Regions from separate parts of the Homo sapiens genome. Here all the other regions are linked to region 3. The links are contacts of gene promoters, found by promoter capture Hi-C in blood cells and fetal thymus (Javierre and others, 2016). All regions are on one chromosome and are shown on one strand. The core of a region is centred on a gene start or on the middle of the fragment in contact, and the rest is flanking DNA. Distances in the headings are between cores, read along the strand shown. Region 1 overlaps TBPL2 (TATA-box binding protein like 2). Region 2 overlaps SOCS4 (suppressor of cytokine signaling 4). Region 3 holds the start of DLGAP5 (DLG associated protein 5).

Region 1 (2,700 bases), core at 5-2,504, 240 kb after region 3:
CATGATAGGATGAACTTGTGTTTATTATCCTCATTTAGTGCTCAGGGAAAACAAGTAGCAATATAACCTCCAATATTACACAGGAAGTGGTAAAGTTAAGATTCAAAACCCACACTAATCAGATTCTCTGCTTTTTACTTTGACACACTTCCTTTTTCTTTTGAAGAATCTTTTGGGAAAAAAATAAGTATGTTAAAGGCTCACCAAGACTTCAGAATGTACTGAAAAATGACCAAAATGCAGAAGAGTCTGTATGATAGGCATGCTAAAGATGAATGACAGAAAGTTGATGTCAAGGTTCTTGCCTCTTATAGTTCTCAAAGTGTCATTCAAGACCAGCAGCATCAGCAAGCCCTGCAGGTGAGGCTGACACTCGTGAGGGTAGGGAACCTCTGGCCTGCCACATGGACGTGTCATCAAATGGCCTGCTCCTACACAGATAGTCTCTTCACCCCAACTCCTCTCCCCGGTTAAGCTAGGAAGGAAACTGGGGTGGGTGCTAGCTTAAGGGCCAAGCCAGAATTTCTCTGGGTGTCAAGCACAAGTTCAGAGAGATCCTATACACTCATCCCCAGCCCTGCCCACCCCTACCCCTCGTCCAAAATGAGAGGTGTGCTGAGGATGGTGGACAATAAAAGTTGCCTAAAATGCTGATTGTTCAATAATGTGATCACAGCTGCAGCTGTGAGGATCTTAGCTCATCTTTGTGTCTGTCCTCACCATTGTCAGCTGTATGAAATATCAAAAGGAAAGCTTTATTGTATTCGGGTAACATCGAGGTAACATTTAAATTCAGATGTCAGCAACAATACTAGGGCAACAGCAAAAACAAATAATAGTTGATGCCTGCAAGGTCTCTGGGTTCCTACGAATGTGACCTTTTTTCATCTAATTCCATAAATCCTCCACCACCTAAGCCAGTGAACTTTTTCCCAGTAGGAAGCAGGTCTTACTCATCTTTGTACTCCTAAGTACAGAGCCTGGCAAATCGTTAAAAGTTGATAGGATTGACAAACCCAATTACCCTAGGTAAACAAGCCATTGAAAACAGGATGCCTGGCCTTGGCAGGATACAAGAAAGAATAGATTTTATTAAACTTTGAGGAGGACGAAAAAAAAAATCCCTGAATCTTACATTAGTAAATAGGAGCTTGAACTTTATACTTTAAGCAGTTTAGCCTTCTCAGATAAGAGGAATTGTAATGGAAAGATACATAAGTGTCAGGTAGCTGAGACAACATTTGGCAAAAATTATTTCCAGAAATTTGATGGCATTTTAAGATAGTTAGCATCCCAATAGTCAGGTGAAATTTTTTTTTTTTTTTTGGAGACGGAGTCTCGCTGTTACCCAGGCTGGAATGTAATGGCATGATCTTGGCTCACTGCAACCTCTGCCTCCTGGGTTCAAGTGATTCTCCTGCCTCAACCTCCTGAGTAGCTGGGATTACAGGCACCCGCCACAACATCCAGCTAATTTTTGTATTTTTAGTAGAGACGGGATTTCACCATGTTGGTCAGGCTGGTCTCAAACTCCTGACCTCGTGATCCACCTGCCTCAGCCTCCCAAAGTGCTGGGATTACAGGAGTGAGCCACCGTGCCCAGCCTAAGTGAAAAATTATAATCATACTAAAAAATATTTTTGAATGACAAGGGAGAGAGCTTATCTTTAAGGAACTGCTCAATTACTGCTTTATTCAGCATAAAGAATGAGATTATTTTTTATAACTCAAAACAGATATTAACCCTGAGTTGCCAAAAGCTTTTTCAGTAACAATTTTTTAAGAAAAAACAGAGGAATTAGTCAATATCATGATCATATTAAGAAAAGTAAATCTAAAGAGAAGCTAATTATTGGAAGGAATACTGAGAAATGTTACCTTTGGGTTATATTCTGCATTTTTTGCATGCAAAGCTATTTTCTTCAGATCCAACTTACAGGCCAGGTTTACAGTGGAAACTATATTCCTGAAGAAATAAGTCAGTTTAGAAACTTATATCAGATATAAAGAGTAAAAAAAAAAAAAGACAACTTATTTTCTCATTTCTTAGGTTATACCTTAGCAATTTCCTAGGGGGAGAATTATTCCAAATGTGAAATACATGACATGATTCCTAGTTAAGTGTAAAATCCCAAAGTGAAGTGCTAAAGAGCCTTTCCTAAAATTTCATGACTAGCTGCTAAAATTAAGTTTTAGATCTTTTTTCAAAACAATGCCTCAAAATAGAAATTACAATTCTGAATCAATTTGCAAATCAAACTCAATTTTACATCTTTATATCCTTGGTGTTTATCCAACCCTACCCACAATTTTCAGCAACTACAGTGCTGTAGTATAAACAATACAATCCTTCAAGAATGCATCTATTAATCTTTAAGTCCCCTCCGCCCACCTTAGAGGTCAAGAATTAGTGCTTTGCCTTACAGATAATCAAACTGTCTAAAGCCACAATCCATTTAGAACTGATAAAACAAAGAATTATGAAATCTGAAATTCTCTTCCCTACTATTATCCTGAAATTAGTTGTCATCGCATTCAGGAATATAAAATGTGTACCCAATGTGCTCAATTAAAACAAAAATAAAAACTTACTGTAGTTGAGGTACAATTCCACAACATTCTGAAATAGGGGTCATTGGTGTCATGGGAGTTATGGATGCCAGAGACAAGGAGTCGGAGTTTGGTTTCTCAGGAGAGGGC
Region 2 (2,700 bases), core at 124-2,623, 140 kb before region 3:
TAAACATGGAGCTCAGTATTCAGGAAGCTTAATACTGTTTTTGATCTACAAGATCCAAATAATTATCCCTATCTTCAGAATTAACTTAGTCTGTAATGTGGCTTCAAAAAAAGAAAGCCTTTTGACAGCTACATGACTTACACCATACAGAACAGTACTGGACAAAAGGGGTGATATTTTAAATTTACTATCCCAGAAACAGGGCAACGTTTTTAGAAACATCTTTAGCCCAAAGTAACTAGTAAAAATAAATGGAGTGGTATCCTATCTTCTTTTTTTAAGGAATCAATGAATAATAAATGTAGATAGACAATTTTCTTCTGGTGAGCTGTCTAACCCTTTGTACACATTGACATTTTTAATATCGTAACTGATTTCTTGATGCTAGTTTAGCTATATTAGGAAACTGCTTCTACCTAGATTGAAAGAAATTTGACTCATAAACTTCCAAGTTAGAACAAATATTTCTTCATTATTGTTGCTTTTATGTGAGTAGCATTTCCCTATCTTGCAGTTCTGTTAACATGAAAATGGCATTTTTCCATAATAGCTTTAAAATAATTTTTTAGTAATTATTACAAAATTAAGGAAAATCTCTATTACCGTTATCTTTTAGCATTTTTTTTTTCCTCAGTGATCTCAAGATTGTCTTAGTCTCAATGAGATGTAGCTACAAAAATGGCACCTCTTAGCAGTGATGAGGCTCAGGATATCGGATATCATAACACCAATGTCAGGATAAATATCTCTTCTAAAGACGATATTTACCTTTTACAAGGTTAGAAAAGTCTCATACTACCTCATCTTTATTGTGGCGCTTTTGTAGATCACTGAGAAGCTTATCTTATTAACCAATATACCACTTCCTAAATATCCATCTTTGGTGAAAGAAAATAGTGTGGTAAGAGTACCCATGATTATAGTTTTTTATCAGAATTTGATAAGATTTTCTGTTTCTGTGAAACAATTATTTTAAATATTTTTCTTTTAAAAATAACTTTTTATCAGTACAGAAAAACCTAAGGGATGACTAGCTTACAAATATTCTGTTAAGGGGTAGTTTTATAAAGAAAAATGATATATAGTTATGTTGTCTTTTATAGTGTTAAAATTAGTATTTATATGAAAGTCAAGATCTAAGTACCTTTTCATATAATTCAAACTGATTGCTTGTGATATGTTTTCTCTGGCTTTTTTATTTTTTCAACTTCAAGGTATTAACAGCTGTTAACACTTAAAAAGTACTGCCACATATGTAGCCTTGAAGTAGTTGATCTAATAAATGAGAGCAGGGAGGAGATTCATTGACTCTGAAATGATTTTTATTTTTCCTTTGGTATTTGCTACAGTGAAAAGAAGTTTGGAAAGTAGATACATAAAGACTTGAGAAGGGAATTGTTTAAGGGAAAAGAAAAGAGTAATAATTTTTTTTAAAACATTAAGGAATTGGAATTCAGAAAGGTTACCCCCTTCCTCTGTGTCTTTGTAAGGATACATTTGGAAGAACATACAGTATTCAGAAACTAACCTATATAAAATGTAAACAATATATTGATTGCACTATATAAATGAGTAAATTTTGAGAGGAACAATGTGGGAATGTATAAATTTGTCTAAAATTTTATAACTGTTGAACAAAGGGAAGATTTGAACAGTGTAAATTCCAGAGTTGAGAAAGCATTTAGCATGGTGGAAATGTGGAGAGCTTATTGGTGAGAGAGGATGGAGCTAAGAGAAATAAGATCAAATATTAAAATTAGGAATTTAGGCATTACCTCAGGGAAAAGCCTTGACAGTGAAAAGAAACTACTTAATCGCTAATAGCTAGTCTGGACCAGACACTTAACTGCGCTTTGGGAATCATCCTGGGCTAATCAGGAAATAAACTTGACTTTTCTATTTTTCTCTGAAGCTTTACAGGACATACTCCCACTCCCATTTTTTTCTAAGCCTACAGCATCTTGATTCATAGTATAATTCCTGAAGTATGCTGAATGGACTTTTTAAGGTTCCTTTAGCATTTTTGTATAGAGTTATATGTGATCTTTCTATAACCATGCCATTCACTTAAATAATTCATGAAGGGAATGGTTTAATTTAAAGGAAGACCTAATAGGAAGAAGATTAAAGGAAGCTTTTAGTCAGCCTGTGGCTAGATTTATTGATTTGGTGATCAAACCTGTGCTATTTCCTGAATTTCAGCTAATGGCCAACTGTGGTCAAAGAATGGCTTTCAGTTAAAGTTTTGACTTCTTATTATAAATAATATAAAGAATGTCTCAGTAATTAGAAATCCCTTAATAAGTAGAACAAATGTGGCAAGTAGGACTCCTATCGGTATACAAATTCCATTTCTTTTTATAAGAAAAACACATAAACCATTATCATTTATTCATGAGCCAAAGCCATTAAGAAGATAAATCCAGTTATCAGCTTCCTGTCTCTGAAGTTTGGATCATTTTATAGATCCACGCAATAGAGAGCTTCCTTCCTATGAAACAAAAACCTTGAGATCTCTTTTTTTTTGAGACAGAGTCTCGCTGTTGTCAGCCCAGGCTGGAGTGCAATGGCGCAATCTCGGTTCACTGCAACCTCTGCCTTCCAGGTTCCAGCAATTCTCCTACCTCAGCTCCCAAGTAGCTGAGATGACAGGCGTGTGCCACCACGCCCAGCTAATTTTTGTATTTTTAGTAGCGATGG
Region 3 (2,700 bases), core at 128-2,627:
CTGCTTGAGCCCAGGAGTTTGAGACCAGCCTGGGCAACATAACACGACCCCGTCTCTATAAATTTTAAAAAAGAAAAGCCATACACACACACACACACACACACACACGCACAAAATCATATAGTTTAATTGGCACATGCCTTTTTCTTGGAAAGATCTTTGAGAATGTATTCAAGCAAAACAAAAGAGGACAATAAAGACGACGTCAGTAGATCCAACTAGGGAGAACAAAGAAAATTAGAAAGTTTGAGGGGGTCACCTGTGTAGCTGGTATAGAGAACTACCAAGCCAAACTGGAGAAAGGATACTGATTCTCAGAAGTCTTGGCAGTTAAAAAACAAAAACAAAAAAAGGTAAGGGGGAGGCTCTGTGATAGACACACTATGGTATATTCTTCAACAAGAATTAACTAAATCCACTAGAAAACTCCAGATAATAGAAAAATTGGCACAAGTAATGCAATACATTGTTACATGATTCTAAGCAATCAACAAAATATAAAAAACGAGAATCTGTCTGACCTGCATGCTAATAACATTCTCCTCTAAGACCCAAGGAAAGTGACAATGGACTGTGCTTTTCATAAAGAACTGTCTTCTACTATTTATCTCCTGCAATATTAATTCGCTAAAGATTGAAGAAAAATTAAGACTTATGTATTAAATACAGGATAGCACTATCCACAGCAAGAGAAAGAGCGAGCGAGGACAACATTAAAGGTACAATTATCAGAATAACCCTGAAAGGTAGTTAACTATTATCGCTCTCATACAGATGAGGTCAATTAACTGCTCACATTAGCATATCTAAAAGGTGGTGAAGCTGGGATCCCAAGCAAGGCAGCCCTGGCTCCACACACACCTAAATTTTGTTTGGCTGAGTGGCGTTTCCTCCAGCTTGAAAGTCCAGAATGCGTTAATCTTGCTTGACTAGAGGTTCTCAACCGGGCGTTTTTAGTTGCCATGGGACCTGGGAAGAGCTACGGGAATTTAATGTCGGAGCTAGTGAAGAACAGTTTCACCCCAAAGGTCAATTACGCCCCGGTGGTGAAACGCTGACTATTACAGAGGTCAGGGCAAACATATGGACTCTTCTAAAGGCTCGCATTATCAGCTTCGGGAAGGGCAGGTAACACGGTCCTAAAGGAGCCTGCCTCTGACTTGCTCCCGCTCGCAGCCCCCGGTCCTCAGACCCTTCTAGACCTTCAACGGAAGCGGGCCAGTGTTCTCCGTCCAGCTCTCCAGCACCCACCTACCTGAGCCACCTTCTAGCGTGAAACCTCAACCAAACAAAAAGTAAAGAACACTCGGTCTGGACGACCACCGCCGACTCCGAAGCAGGAACCCTCACAACCCGAGCCTCCACGAAATTCAAACTTGCCGCACCGAGCCGCTGATTGGAGGGGCTTTAACCAACACTTCCGGGGAAGATCCCACCCCTTCCACTCAACGAGGCTTGCGATTGGTTTGCTCCGTGCGATATTTGAATTGATTGAAAGGTGAAGGGCCAGTTCAAAAGATGGGTGAGAGAGGGAAAATAGGCGGGACCGCGACGCGGGATGAGAAGGAGTGGAGCAGTCGGGGCGCTCACGTCAGGTGAAGGGCGGGAGTGGGCGGTGGAGCCCGAGGGGTGAGGCTGGGTCCCTGGCAAAGCTGGGCTGCGGGAAATCTCCCCCAGAGCTCGCAAGGCTTTTTTTTTTTTTCTTTTTTCTTTTTTTTGAGACAAGGTCTCTGTCCCTTAGGCTGGAGTATAGTGGGCACCGACCACTGCTCACTGCAGCCTTGAGCTGCTGTGTTCAAACCATCCTCCCACCTCAGCCTCCCGAGTAGCTGGGACTATAGGCGCGCACCACTACGCCTGGCTAACTTTAAAAAAATTCCGTAGAGACAGGGCCTCACTACGTTGACCAAGCTGGATTCAGGGCTTTTTAATGTCCTTGTTTAGTCACAGAATCTAGCAGACCTTCTTGGAATGTTTTCTTTACTAGACGTTTTAAAGAAAAGGCTTACCCCAATTATCAAATCCTTACATAGTTTAGCGTTACTTTTCAACGTCGCCAGCCCCCCTCCCCTTTTTTTTCTTTTTTAGTTCATTTTTTGTTGAGGCGAAGTTTTCGTATACAGTGAAAATAATAGTTTTTCCCCCCCAGTGGACAATTTGATGAGTTTGGTAAATGTAAACAGCTGTGTAACTACCACCCAATCAGGACGTAGAGCATTTCCATCACTCAGAAGAGTGGCCTGTTTCTTTCCTGTCCATCTCCCACCACATCAGCAACCACTCCTCTTATTTCTAGCACTATAAAAATGAAGGTGATAGGTACTCTTTTGGGTCTGCGTGAACCAGAAGTTAGTAGTGTTTGTTATTGAGAGGCATTCCATTGAATACTTTATGCATTCACCAGTTGATGGATTTGTATTGCTTTCAATTTTTGGTGATGATGAGCAAAGTTGCTATAACCATTCTCGTACAAGTCCTTGTGGGCATATTTTATTTATCTTGAGGAAATACAGGAGTGGAATTTCTGGGTCATTCTGGGTATGTTTAACTTAAAATTTTTTTTTTTTTTTAGAAGCAGGGTCTCTCCGTCCCCCAGGCTAGAGAGCAGTGGCACAATCATAGCTCATTGCAGCCTTGGCCTCTTGAATAGCTGGGACTATAGGCGGGTGCCGTCACCCATGTCTAACTTTGTAAGGAATT

Evidence for each region. Contacts are between HindIII fragments. The CHiCAGO score rates a contact against its expected background, and 5 or more counts as called.
Region 1: a fragment that was not itself captured here is called in contact with the fragment with the promoter of DLGAP5 in region 3 in 1 of 17 cell types (activated CD4 T cells); the score reaches 5.8 in activated CD4 T cells.
Region 2: a fragment that was not itself captured here is called in contact with the fragment with the promoter of DLGAP5 in region 3 in 1 of 17 cell types (monocytes); the score reaches 5.1 in monocytes.

What each region holds. Positions count from the first base shown.
Region 1 is chr14:55,433,969-55,436,668 of GRCh38, forward strand. It overlaps TBPL2 (TATA-box binding protein like 2), which reads right to left. Exons shown (of 7, transcript NM_199047.3): 2 at 2,593-2,700; 3 at 1,879-1,966. It also overlaps a transcript of FBXO34 not described here. Among named protein-coding and RNA genes, the nearest start is that of TBPL2, 5.3 kb to the right of the region's middle. The HindIII fragment of the contact is 1,007 bases long and covers 752-1,758 here.
Region 2 is chr14:55,045,412-55,048,111 of GRCh38, forward strand. SOCS4 (suppressor of cytokine signaling 4) reads left to right here. Exons shown (of 3, transcript NM_199421.2): 3 at 1-2,700. Among named protein-coding and RNA genes, the nearest start is that of MAPK1IP1L, 4.9 kb to the right of the region's middle. The HindIII fragment of the contact is 1,074 bases long and covers 837-1,910 here.
Region 3 is chr14:55,190,208-55,192,907 of GRCh38, forward strand. DLGAP5 (DLG associated protein 5) reads right to left here and starts at 1,378. Exons shown (of 19, transcript NM_014750.5): 1 at 1,256-1,378. LOC105370508 (a long non-coding RNA gene) reads left to right here and starts at 1,466. Exons shown (of 2, transcript XR_943888.3): 1 at 1,466-1,595. RefSeq lists enhancers at 568-1,121, 1,122-1,674. The HindIII fragment of the contact is 13,519 bases long and covers 1-2,700 here.